Regions from separate parts of the Homo sapiens genome. Here all the other regions are linked to region 2. The links are contacts of gene promoters, found by promoter capture Hi-C in blood cells and fetal thymus (Javierre and others, 2016). All regions are on one chromosome and are shown on one strand. Each heading gives the region's core, a stretch centred on a gene start or on the middle of the fragment in contact. The rest is flanking DNA. Distances are from core to core; before and after follow the strand shown.

Evidence for each region. Contacts are between HindIII fragments. The CHiCAGO score rates a contact against its expected background, and 5 or more counts as called.
Region 1: a contact is called between a fragment that was not itself captured here and the fragment with the promoter of RHOC in region 2, in 1 of 17 cell types (monocytes). The highest score is 5.3, in monocytes.
Region 3: a contact is called between a fragment that was not itself captured here and the fragment with the promoter of RHOC in region 2, in 1 of 17 cell types (neutrophils). The highest score is 5.4, in neutrophils.

The regions. Positions count from the first base shown.
Region 1 is chr1:113,706,288-113,710,716 of GRCh38, forward strand. PHTF1 (putative homeodomain transcription factor 1) reads right to left here. Exons shown (of 19, transcript NM_001323043.2): 11 at 3,967-4,188; 12 at 307-435. Among named protein-coding and RNA genes, the nearest start is that of PHTF1, 51 kb to the right of the region's middle. The HindIII fragment of the contact is 1,532 bases long and covers 844-2,375 here.
Region 2 is chr1:112,705,171-112,709,475 of GRCh38, forward strand. It overlaps RHOC (ras homolog family member C), which reads right to left and starts at 1,957. Exons shown (of 6, transcript NM_175744.5): 1 at 1,908-1,957. RefSeq lists an enhancer at 368-417 and a silencer at 1,677-2,396. The HindIII fragment of the contact is 12,151 bases long and covers 1-4,305 here.
Region 3 is chr1:113,745,960-113,750,707 of GRCh38, forward strand. The region is part of intron 3 of PHTF1 (putative homeodomain transcription factor 1); the gene reads right to left. Among named protein-coding and RNA genes, the nearest start is that of PHTF1, 11 kb to the right of the region's middle. RefSeq lists a silencer at 3,468-3,762. The HindIII fragment of the contact is 3,984 bases long and covers 1-3,613 here.

The sequences.
Region 1 (4,429 bases), core at 360-2,859, 1.0 Mb after region 2:
AGATTTATGACTTTCAAATCTTATTAAAAATTGGGATTCAATGAGATAAGGAATATCTGTAGAGCATACCTGAACAGTTGATTATGTTAATAGAGACCAGGTATAACAAATAATGTATATACTACCATGTAAAGACTCTGACTACAAAATTACATATATATGTTAATAATGTTATTATATATAATATGATATATATGTGCTTCAAAAGCAGAGTCATACTGTTTTAATCACTAAGAGATTCTTATAAAATAGCTCCTGATCACTTCGTATATTTTTTGAAAAATCTGAAAACATATTCAGTCTTACCCTGCTCATGATGATGCCACTTATTTCCAACACAGACATATCCATCTTTTTGCACTCATTCCCCTCCCAGATTATTGCACTAACTCGATCAGAGGAAGGACTTGAATTCTGAAGCCAGAATAAATGATTCTGAGAAGAAAAATATAAAATTGTTTCTATCCATGCCCTCTTGCCTCCATTAGTTTTTCTTTCCCAGGCTCCATTCATTTGCCAACACTCTAATAACCACCTCTATAATGCTGGTCCTTTCTTTCTTTCTTTTTTTTTTTTTTTTTTTTTTTTGAGACAGGGTATCACTATGTTGCCCAGGCTGGTCTCAAACTCCTGGGCCCAAGCAATCCTCCCATCTGCCTCCCTCTATACAGCCTTCTGTGTAGCAAGGACCATAGGCACATACCACCATGGCTCGCTAGGTCCATTTTTCCTTACTAAGCCATTCTCTCATCTAGAGAGAGACTAAATGTCTTCTGTTATGAGGAGAGATAGTCCATGATCTCCAAGGTTGCTTCCCTCTCTAAAGGTATGGAAGTGAGGATAAGCTTAGTGTAGTCATGGGCTATTAAGAAAGAATTTCTAGAGCTACGAGATTACACTGGGAGTAATAGGAAGTAAAGGAAGAGAGATACTAAAAGGCCTTATAAATCACATGAATGACTGAGGAGTTAAGTCTGTTTCTGGTCTAACCAGGACACAAAATTAGTGAGGCTTAGAAAAGCTCAAGTGGAGACAGTCACAATGAAAACAGCTCCCTCTCCTCCTCTGCCATATCATGTCTTATTCTTTAAATACTAGCTCAAGTCCCATTTCACCAACATGGTCCTCTCTGACAGCCTCAGTCTTACTAACTTTGCCCTTCTCTGAAATGAAAAACTTCTACAGTCTGTATCAGACAAATTAACATCTTATTATATGGTGCTTTTATGTTGTCCTCTATTTGTTTCCTATATAATTATCTTGTTCCCAAACTAAAAGATAATCTTCTAGAAAAGGACCATCTGGCATATTTTTTCTCTTCTACCACCATGCTTAGCATAATGCCAACAAGTATTTATTGATTTGAATCACTGACTTGATTGATTCACTGACTTATACAATTCATATTAAGCACCTACTATGTATCATGCATGTGGATAAAATGGAGAACAAGATAGATGTCCTTGCTATCAAGGAGCTTATAGACTTCTGAAGGAAGTTACTATACAGCATGGTAAGGAAAGGCAAGAGTGCTTTAGGAGTATATAAGAAAGGCTTCCTGAAGGAAGCATCACTCAAGCCAAGACCTGCCTGGAAATAAAAAGGAATGAACCAAAAGAATTGGCATTAGAGAAAATTATGTCCCAGGCAAAGAAACCTGTATGCATAAGGGCCCAGAGGCACATGAGGCCTGGTACACATCAGAAACAAAGAAGGTTAGTTGAGTCGAAGTTCACCATGTGAGGAGGAGGGAGGGAATGGTCAGAGATGAGACTGTATTAGAACAAATAAAGGAACAGAAGCAAGCAATCCAGAAAGAAGAAAAAAGGATTTTAAAGGAAGTGGCATTATCAGATTTGTATTTTAGAATTATCACTCTGGCTGTAGCAAGGAAAATGAAAGGAACAGAGGCAACCCTACAGAAGCTACTGTAATGATCCAGTTGAGATAAAATGATGGCCTGCACCAAGCAGGGTGACCAGAAACAGAGAGATGCAGGTATTTAGACAGCTGAATCAAAAGAACATAAGCGACTAAGGGTGGAAAGAATGGGGCCAGCTGGGCGCGGTGGCTCACGCCTGTAGTCCCAGTACTTTCGGAGGCCGAGGTGAGTGGATCACTTGAGGTCAGGAGTTCGAGACCAGCCTGGCCAACACAGCGAAACCCCATCTCTACTAAAAATACAAAAATTAGCCAGGTGTGGTGGCAGGCGGCAGGCACCTGTAATCCTAGCTACTCAGGAGGCTGAGGCAGGAGAATCACTTGAGCCTGGAAGGCGGAGGTTGCAATGAGCTAAAATTGTGCCAGTGTACTCCAGCCTGGGTGACAGAGTAAGACTCCATCTAAAAAAAAAAATGGGGTCAAGAATGACTTCAAGCTTTTTGACTTGGGTGGGTAGTGTGGTATTAAGAAATACAGGGAATAAAAGAATAGGCTACGTGAACAGGATTGGAAAATGATTTATTGCATTTGACATGGTGAGTTTACCACACTCAATTATTCTTATATATGTCTTAAAATTATACTGCAAATCTCAAAGGAGGGGAGTGCTACGGAGATCAACATCATCGTGATACTATGCATAACTACTGAAAACTAATGTAATTTAGATGAATCTTCAGACTGAATGCAAAAAATATTTAGCCTCACTGCAAAATCAGAAAAAGTAGCATAAAATTTTAATGAGAGCCAGGTATGGTGACTCACCCCTGTAATCCCAACACTTTGGGAGGCTAAGGTGGGAGGACTGTTTGAACCCAGGAGTTAAGACCAGCCTAAGCAACATAGTGCGACCCTGTCTCTACAAAAAATTTAAAAATTAGCCAAGCATGGTGGCTAATCAGGAGGCTGAGGTGGGAGGATCACTTGAGCTGGAGAGGTTAAGGCTGCCGTGAGTCATGATTGCACCACTGCACTCCAGCCTGGGCAACAGAGTGAGCTCTGTCCCAAAAAAGAAAACTTTAATGAGAAAATTTACACTGTTTCTTGTTCATTTTTTAAAAATTATATACATTTAATGAAGCGATTTTTTAAATGAAAATGTATAACCTAAATCAATGGTATTTTTGAATCAAGAATATTTGACAATTAAACAAATATATATCCATCATCCACTATTTGCAAGACAATGTGGAAATATTTAGCCTAAAGAACAAAAACCTAAGAATCATAACAATCATTGACATTAAGCAACTGAAAGGTTGATAAGTGAACTATTTCTTCATCATTCAATCTATCCAGAAGTGGAATAAGCTGTATCATTAAATAACAAGCATTCCAGCTCCAGAAGTATTTAAGAGGCCAATTGATCATCTGATGGAGATATAAATAATAATGCTAACATTTATTGGGTATTTACTCTTGCCAGGTATTATGCTATGTACTTTATATTATCTCATTAGCTATTTCACACTATTCCTAAGAAGTAAGAACTATTATCACCACATAACAGATGGTAAAAAATTTACACAGATGTAGAATGAATCTCTACATTGGTTGGAAGGTTGAAATACCTTCTAATGGCTATCTGACTTTATGATATTAATATAAAACCTGAAATTAAAAGCATTATTTATTTTATGCATTGTTCAAAAAGCAAGCAATACCATTTCCTAGTAATTCATATGTAACACTGTGATGTTCATGAAAATATAAGGTATATTCTCTATATGCAAACTCTACTCATATAAAATATAAAATACACATAAAGGACCATTCTAAGGAAAATAATAAGAAAAAGTAATATACAGAAAAATTTAGGTTAGGGCAACTCTAGATTACTTCTCCCTGAGTTCTAATCCCAACATCTTCACTTATAGACTATGCTCAGTTTCCTCACCTCTAAACTGGGGATAATAATAGTATCTACCCTACAGGATGATTGTAAAGTTAAATGAGATGACAGAGTGCCTGACACACAGTAAGAACACAATAAATACTAGCTATTCTTATCATGTCTGCACAGACCTGCTGAAAAACATCCTCTTTGGGGTCACGTTTGGTCCCTGAGTGAAGGGTATTCACATGGGCCCCCTCACTGTCACTGGTGACAGATGACCGGCACTCTGGGCCATGTAGCAGGTCGTCCCATAACATGTCCTCAGTCTCCGAGTCATGGCGGGTGCTTTCTGAGTCTCTTCTTGACATGTTGAGGCTTCGAGAGCCACCACTCACACCCGATCTAGAGCCCTTTAAAGGAAAACAAAAAGCAAAAAATGTTATTCATCTTTAAAAATAATTACATGTGAAATAAAATTAAAACAACTTATCTACAGCAATGGCTTGAAAGCCTTCAGAAGTCAATCACCATGAATTCATTTTTTCACAGGGCTTCACGTAACAATAATGCTTTTTTATTTTTTGATACAGGGTCGCGCTCTGTCACCCAGGCTGGAGTGCAGTGGCATGATCATAGCCCACTGCAACCTCA
Region 2 (4,305 bases), core at 707-3,206:
GTTGGGAAGGGGGAGGGGGCTAGAGTCTGGGCTGGGAGGAGCCCCAAAAGAAGAGACAAATGAGGGCCAGTCCCAGCACCAACCAGGCAGGGAGCAGTTAAGAAAGCGACGGTAACCTGATCTCAGCCTCAAACCTAGCTTTTTCTCTCAGTCCCACATCCTGTCAAACTGGGCTGACTGAACGCCTCTACTCCCCACACCCCACCACCACCTCACACTGCCCTTTAGGAAGCGAATACTCCAGCCCCAGGCCTCTTCCCTTCAACATAGATCCTGAGTGGCCCTTCCCTTGCCTCCAGACACATTCACAAAACTGTTGGTTTTGTGGACATGAGTCAGAGAATTTACAGGAGTTCAAAGTACACAGCCACACTCTTCCCACCACAAAACGGACTCTCTCTGATTCCCCAGAAGACAAGCAAGAAGGCATTCACCCTGTCGGCAGATCGCCTCCAGAAATGGAAACCATCCTCCAAAAAGAGGGTTCCTTGGGAATTCTATCCCGGTGACTGACGCTGGGATTTCTTCCAACTCCTCCACCCACTCCATTAGTTCACCTTGCCCTGTTTTGTAAAGATGGGCTGGGGTAGCCCCAACCTGGGGTGGGCAGTGTTGATGGAGGGCAATCACTACTGGGGTGAAAGCCAGTCACTTAGGCATGAGTATGCCACTGCTGTCCCCCCAGCAGGGTAATTCAGACGGCACCAGAGTGGTGGGAGGCAGAGGACAGAAACCCGGGGTTGAGGCATGCGTTAAGGGACCTGGAGCCTCCAGCCCAATTAGAAGACTTTCCCTCCAGGCTATGATTGGGCCAGAACAGCAGGCAGCCCAGGCCAGGACACTAGGCCCAAGGCCAAGATGGCATGGACAACTCCCTGTGAGAGGCAGCCCCAGAGGGACTGTCCCACTGACCCCTTAAGAGGGGCAACTGAGCCCCACACAGGGCCTGGAATGGAGCCTGGAACTTCTGGGGCCTTCCCCAAGACAAGACAGTGTGGCTACATCAGACCTCTCTCCAATCGCTCTCTTGAATTCCCAGATGATCCAGAGCGGCCGGTTGACTTTGCCGGCCCACCCTACACCTAGGGAAGGAATCCGTTCTGGAGATACCAAGAGATACTGCATTCTCAACTTTAAAACCAGAGTGAGGGCGGGACTCGGCCTCGGGATCCCAGTCCCAAACCCCAGGATACTCTTTCTTGGTTCGAGTATGAAGAAGGAGGATTCTCAATCTCATTTTCTCTCTCTCTCTCTCTCTCTACACACACACACACACACACACACACACACACACCACACACACACACACACACACACACACACACACACACACACACACACACACACACACACACACACACACACACAGAGTTGGATCCTTCCCCATCTCCCTTATCCTCAACACAAGCGGGCTCCAGGAACCGTCCAGGGCGGCGTCCAGACCCTGCCGAGCAGTGGCAGGCCCCAATGGTCACATCCCGCCCCTATTCCCGCCATACCTCCCTCCTGGCCTGGAGGAATTCCCACCCCATCCCACTCTAGGTCCCCTGCGGCCGCCCACCCTGGGGGCTGGGGCGTCTGAGTTGAAGTTCCCTCGCCCCTCGCCCGGCGGGGCAGGTTCCGGGAAGCTGGGAGGAGAAGGGAAGGGGCTCCGACTCGGACCTCAGGAGGCCAGAGCCCCTGCCGGCAGGTCCGGGCCCCCTCGCTGCAGCCCGGGGAGGGGCCGACGCGGTCCGACCACCGCCCAGCCCGGATGCCGACTCCGCTTGGAGGGAACGGGGTCCACGCCCAGGCCGAAGCCCCTCCTCGCACGGGCCCCGATCTCCGGGCCAGCGAGGAAGGGAAAGTGCTCTCCTGGGGACGAGTTCCCAAGACGCCCCACCGCCCGCAGCCCCGGCCCAGGGTACCTTCCGCTCCGCCGCCTCCAGCTGCGCGGCCGGTGCCGGAGGCTCAGACTGACCCCAGGGCCCCGCCCCGCCCTCCTCCAGCGCCGCGGCGGGGAGGGCGGGCCCGGCAGGGGGAGGGTCGGCCGGGGGCGGCCCTTGGCTCGGCCCGCCCCGGCCCCGCGCAGGGCCGCAGCCACCGGCCCCCTCCGCAGGCCGGGGACTGGGGGCCAGGGGCGTCCACCCCTCCAGGTCGGGGAGAGCCACGGGGAGATTCCTGGACTGCGGAGGAGCCGGGCGAGCGGGGGGAGCACGACCCGGGTGGACTCAGACTCTGCCCAGCCTTCAATCCCCTAGGGGAGGACCGGCGTCGGGAAAGTTAAGAGGTGCTCGGGGTGGGGTCAGGAAGGGCCGCTGCTGCCCTCCTGTGGCCAAGCGGCCACCCGCTCCTGCTGCACCTGGGACCTCGCGGGAAGCGGGACTGGGAAAGGGTATCCGCCGGGAGGTCCCAGGGCCCGGCGCGGGTGTGTTGGTTGGGGGGAGATGTCCACCCTCTTGTTCCTAGGATCGTACAGCCCAACGTCATCCCCCAAACTTGAAGACCTCTCAGAGCCGTTCAGACCCAGACCACCGTTCCTCCTCACAATTCGCTTTCTTCCCTGGGCCTGGAATTTCCAGGAGTCCAATTCCTACCTACTCCTCAAAGGGTGCGCCTAGAAATGCTTCTGGATCCCAGCTGTGAATTCTGTTCCCACTCCTAGGTCTGACTTGGCGCATAGGATATTTACCTACACGCGTATCTCCTTTCCCTGTAAGGGAGCTGAGGAGGTGGGAGTAGAATGAGGACGTCCACCAACATTTCATTGGCTTGTGCTTGGGACACTACACAGCTTAACCCTTTCAATATTCATCACAGATCTCTGGGGAAAATATACCCATCCCCTTTTGCCCATAGAGAAGCTGAGGTTCAGAGAAATCAAGTGGCTTACACAACTGTTTTTGACTTGTGACAGCAAGAATTCACACAGCCGGGCCTGTCTGGCTCCAAACTGGTGGTCTGGCCCTGCTACCTCACGGGCTCCTCCAGCCTGTCCCTTCCCCCGTTGTCTAGCAGAGTGAGTGGCACATAATAGGTTGTCAACAAATATTTGATGAATGAATGAATGTTAGGAGTCATACAGACTTTAAATATCTGAAGTGCAATCCAGACATTTGACAAATGTGAAAACAGGTCCGCAGCAGTTTGGCCCCAGGCCTCTTAACTGACTCAATGAACATTTCTCGAGGGTGAACTGAGAGCTATGTTCGGAAGATCCATTTCTGCCTTCAAACAACTTAGAGTCTAAATGAGGAATGCAATTTCAAGATAGCTAACATTTATTGAATCCATATTACATGGACCTGGGTCCACATACATTAACTACAAGAATCCCATGAGGTAGCTATCTCCATTTTACTGAGAAGCAAATTGAGGTTCAGAGAGGTTACAGAGCTAGTGCTGGGTCTGACACTAGAACCCAAACAGCTGAACTCTAGAGCCCCTGTTCTTAATTCCTACTCCCTACTGACTCCTAATGTAGACAGTTACAATACCGGAGGTCATTGCTGTAGTGTGGGCATGTGTGGGCTGTGCGATACCCAGTCCTGAACAACAGGTGAAGTTCTCAAGATAAGGTGATGTGTAGATTTTTTTAATTTTAATTTTTTTTTGAGACAAGGTCTCTGTTGCCTAAGTGTGCAGTGGCAAGATCTCAGCTCACTGCAGCCTCAACTTTCCAGGCTCCAATGATTTTCCCACTTCAGCTTCCCCAGCAGCTGAGACTACAGGCGTGTACCATCACACCTAATTTTTGTATTTTTTGTACAGATGAGGTCTTGCTATATTGCCCAGGCTGGTGAGGGGCCTTTTCTAATTATTTTGCTCATCTTTATTTTTGCTTCCCTTAACTTACTTTGGGTTTAATTTGCTGTTCTTTTTCTAGCCTCTTAAGGTGGAAACAGATCACTGATTTGAGATCTTTATTCTTTTCTACTATAAGCAATACTCTTAATTTCCTTGGATGCTTAACTGCTTCCCACAGGCACTCACCACTACATTCAGCTAATTTTTTATTTTTTTGTAGAGATGGGGTCTCACTATTGCCCAGGGTGGTCTTAAACTCCTGGGCTTAGCAGTCCTCTCACCTCTGCCTCCCAAAGTGTTGGGATTACAGGCGTGAACCACCGTGTCCAGCAGTAGATTTTGAATAAGTTGGAGCTACTAAAAGCCCACAGTTATGCAAACCCCAGGAAGTTGGTGGTGGTGGTAAAAAATGAAGCTGGAGAAGGAAGCAGTGGCTGGATCATGAAGGTCCTTATATGCCATGCACAGGAGTTGAGTGTTGATTTTGTTCTAGGCGCAATAAGGAGCCACTAAATTTAG
Region 3 (4,748 bases), core at 372-2,871, 1.0 Mb after region 2:
AAAAACTGTCTTCCATGAAACTGGTCTCTGGTGCCAAAAAGGTTGGGGACTGCTGGACTATACAATCTCTGTCACAACCACTCAGCCACTGTAGCACTAAAGCAGACACAGACATTGAATATAAATATGTAAAGCACTAAACCTGGCTGTGTTTCAGCTAGATTTGCACATAAGCAATAGTTTGCCAACCAGATGAGTAGACAATAGGTTAGACCAGGTAATTAGAAGCGTGAACTGGGAAGAGTACTCATATTCAAAAGATATTTAGCAGGTATCATCCAGAAGTATTGGTAACTGAAAATGTGAGATTAGTGTGAAGGTGAAGAACTCTAAACCCTGACTTCAGTACTTTAGCAATTCACTGAATAGGAAAGGTAAGAAAATGAAAAGTATTGGGTCATGGGAGGAAGGTCACATTCAGCTCACATTCCACTGGCCAAGCAAATCCCCTGACTAAGGTGGAAGTCTGTGGGGCCAGGAAGAATTCTTCTCTTATAGGAAGGCACTGCAACTCACATGACAGTAAGTGCAGCCATATAATCTTCTTACAGGTAAGAATAATTACAGGTAGTGAATAATTAGGAAAATTACTATAATATACAGTTCAGTCCATCTGACTCTAAATTTCTTGCCTAAATGCTAAGGAGATTTGTTGGTTTTGGCACCGGTATAAATAAAGCATATTGGTATAGCCAATATACGTAAATACTCACATACCTCTAAATCTACCTATCGCATATGGAAATATATGTATATCCTATTACTCAGGTAACATCATTTAATGTATTATTTGGTTTTGGAGGAAAAATGTTGTAAAATTAAATCTTTATTTGTACTAAAATAATACTCATATTACAAGGTTAATAAAAAATAACATTCCAGTCTCACCCTTCCTTACCCTTGATTCATACATCCTAGCTATTTCTTCTCTTTACTTCTAAAACAAAAAATGTTTACAGTGCTTTCATCAATTTCAGATGTTATCCATTCATTTCTTACTGTTGAAGATGAGGAAATAACTCTTATTTAGCCTTTCTATGCCTCAATTCCTTCACCTATAAAAAAGGGAAGATAATAGCACATACCTCATAAGATTATCATGAGGATCAATTGTGTGTGTTGCTTAAAACAATGCAAGACATACTACACACTATTAATGATTACAGCATCACCAAACACGCACGCCCTCCTGAACTATAGTTTTTTCCAATAGAGTTTTATCACAAATTTTTGTTACATCAATGTTTAGAGGGTTATAATTACATAAATATTGTTCACAGCTAAGCCAAGTAGTGAACTATTATATTTTCCTCTCACAAATTTTTTGCTTGTCCTAGAACTGTAATTGCCTCATTTTTTAATGCACTTAATCTTCTATTACTAATTCATCTTTAAACTCCCTCTGTTACATATCTGCTTCCAATATGCTCGAACACAACATATATCAGTTTAGTTTTCCCCCTTCAAGAGTTCTATATCAATTTTCTGTCCTCATACTCCATTCTGGACTGGTTGTTTTCTAGGTCAGATATAAGGTATCATCCTGAGACATTTGCAATTATCCTGGAATTCCTTTTACTTTGCTGTGTTGGCTGTCCTGTTTTCTGACACTATGAATTCCTTTCTGGCTTATTCATGGATTATAATACAGTACATGTCCTCCCACAGCTTTCTGAGAGAGGGAGTATGGGATATGAATTTTGAGACTCTAAGTTCAAAATATATCAGTGGTGCCTTTGCACTTGATTAATAATTAGGCTGGGCATAAAACTTCAGGTTGAAAATCACTTTCTCTCATGTGCCATTGTCCCTCACCTTCCACTGAACATTCCATTATCTTTTAGCTTCCAAATGAGCTAGAAGTTGCTGCTGAGGGGCAGTATCTCTGACTCCCAATTTTTGTCTACATGATCCGTTTTGATCCTTCACTCTACTCCATGCTTAACCCAAGCTCTAATTCTAAATGTTCTGAAATTTCATGATAATGTTTCTCAGTGCTGATGACTCAAAAGATCCTTTTATTTTCCTTTTTCTTTTGAGACAGAATCTCGCTTGTCGCCCAGGCTAGAGTGCAGTGTTGTATTCACGGCTCTCTGCACCTTTGAACTCCCAGGCTCAAAGGACCCTTTCACCTCAGCCGTCTGAGTAGCTGCGACTACAGGCACACACCACTACACCCAGCTGATTTTTAAATTTTATTGTAGAGATAGGATCTCACTTTGTTGCCCAGGCTGGTCTCAAACTCCTGAGTTCAAGGGATCCTCTTGCCTCAGCCTCCCAAAGTGCTAGGATTACAGGCGTGAGCCACCATGCCCAACGAAAAGATCCTTTTAATCTGGAAATACATACACAGTACTGCATTTCTGGGGCAATTTTTAAAATTATTTATTAATTTCTTCTTCTCCATGTATTTCCTTTTTCTGGAACATCTATTAGTTGGATATTACATTTCCTGCATGAATTGCACTCACTTTGCTATTTTCTTTTTTGTTGTTCATTTTTATACTACTTTTCTGGGAAATGGTCTCAAATTTATCTTCTAACTTTTCCACTGAATTTATTTTAATTTTTATTTATTTATGTGTTTATTTTTGAGACAGGGTCCCACTCTGTCACCCAGGCTGGAGTGCAGTGGTGCAATCACGGCTCACTGCAGCTTCGACTTCCCAGGCTCAGATGATCTCCCACCTCGGCCTCCTAAGTAGCTGGGACTACAGGCATGCAACGCCAAGCCCAGCTAATTTTTTTGTATTTTTTGTAAAGACAGGGTATCACCATGTTGCCCAAGCTAATCTTGAACTCCTGGGCTCAAGCGATCAGCCTCGGCCTCCCAAAGTGCTGAGATTACAGGCGTGAGCCACTGTACCCAGCCACCCCTGAATTTATTCTGATTATTTTTATTTTCTAGTCTTCTCACTTTCTAATCTATAGTCTATTTTTTAAGCATTCTTAATTTTTAAATTGACAGATAATATTCTATGTATTCAGTGTGTACAACATATTCTGAAGTGGATATACACTGTAGAATGACTAAATTAATATATACATTACCTCACATGGTTATTATTTGTGTGGTGAGAACACTTAATATCCACTCTCTTAGCATTTTTCAAGAATACAACATACTAACTATAGTCACCAATGTTATACAATAGATGTCCTGAAGATATCTCAGTCTTTTTATAGTATCCAGTTCTTTAAAGGTAGTAATTATATCTTTAAAAACACTGTTTTTATGATTCCTGCATTGCTTCTTTTCTCTTTTCTTCTTTTTCTTTAGGTCTTAAATATTTGATGATCTTTAATTATCCATTTATAATTAACAGTCACTAACACACTGAATGCAAGCTCAGTGTGCAATGCGTGAAGCATTTTGAATAGTGGACCTCACTATAGAGGCGTGGCCAGTCATTTCACTTTTCAGTATCCTTAGGTTCTCTTTGGTTACTCAGTTTTGACGAAAAGAAATTCCAGTCTTCTGTTTGCAGATTATAAATCTGACGACCAGACTTTCACTTAATCCCCATTATTAGTGCAGCATCTCACCAGACTCTGATTTGTTTCTGGTCTTCCAGAATCCAGAACTTCTCTGGCTCAGCCTCTCCAGAGAGCAAGCTTCAACCCGGTCTTCTGTCAGAGGAAGATAAGGGTAACTATGTGGCTACATGGAATAAGGAAGATCTGGGGGTAGATCTATTATCCCTTATACACATGTTCAAACAATCCTGTCTTTAGTTCTTTCTCACTCCTACAGATTATACCTGATACATCTAATTCCTGAGTCTTTCAGAAGTTAATTACAGGGGTTTTACTTGTTTCCTATTGGCTTTCCCTATTGCAGGCACTTAAGAGTTTTACTTCTTTCATTTTCCAACCTTCGAAATTGTATTGATAGCTCTCATTTACTGTAGTCTCTTCTTCCATTCTTTAAGTCCTTGCAGGCTGCCATGATTTTTTCTTATCTGTTGTACTTTTAAAGAGGTTTCAGGAGAGATTAGTGCATGTATTTGAACTACCATTTTTTGGGTTTTGTTTTGTTTTTGTTTTTTTTTCAGGACAGGGTCTTGCTCTGTCACCCCGTCTAGAGTGCAGTGGCACAATCATAGCACACCACAGCCTCAAACTCCTGGGCTCAGGCGATCCCCCCCAACCAGCTTCCCCAGTATCTGGGACTACAGGCACATGCCCACCACACCCAGCTAATTTTTTTATCTTTTTGTAGAGCTATGTTGCCCAGGCTGGTCCCAAACTCCCGGCCTCGAGCAAAAACCTCGGCTTCCCAGAGTGCTGGGATTATAGGCGTGAGCGACCACGCATGGCCTCAAACTGTCATCTTTAATGAGGAGTGTCAGTGTCATCTATCATATGGCCACCATCCTGCTTAAATAAAACATTATAAATACAGCTGAAGTAGTCTCTGTGCTTCTGATTAGCCTTTTTTATTCTCTAAATACAAAACCATGCTATCTTCAAACAGTGATTTTTGTTCACTCTAATATTAATTTTTAAAAATAAAACACACAAAAAAGAAAAGATAATATTAATTAATATTAATTAGAATGTTTTGCTCATCTTAGCAAATGTATCTCAAACAGTATGCTAAAGAGTAGTAAAAGGGGCCAGGCGTGGTGGCTCACGCCTGTAATCCCAGCACTTTGGGAGGCCAAGGCAGGCAGATCATGAAATCAAGAGATCGAGCCATCCTGGCCAACATGGTGAAACCCCACCTCTACCAAAAATACAAAAAT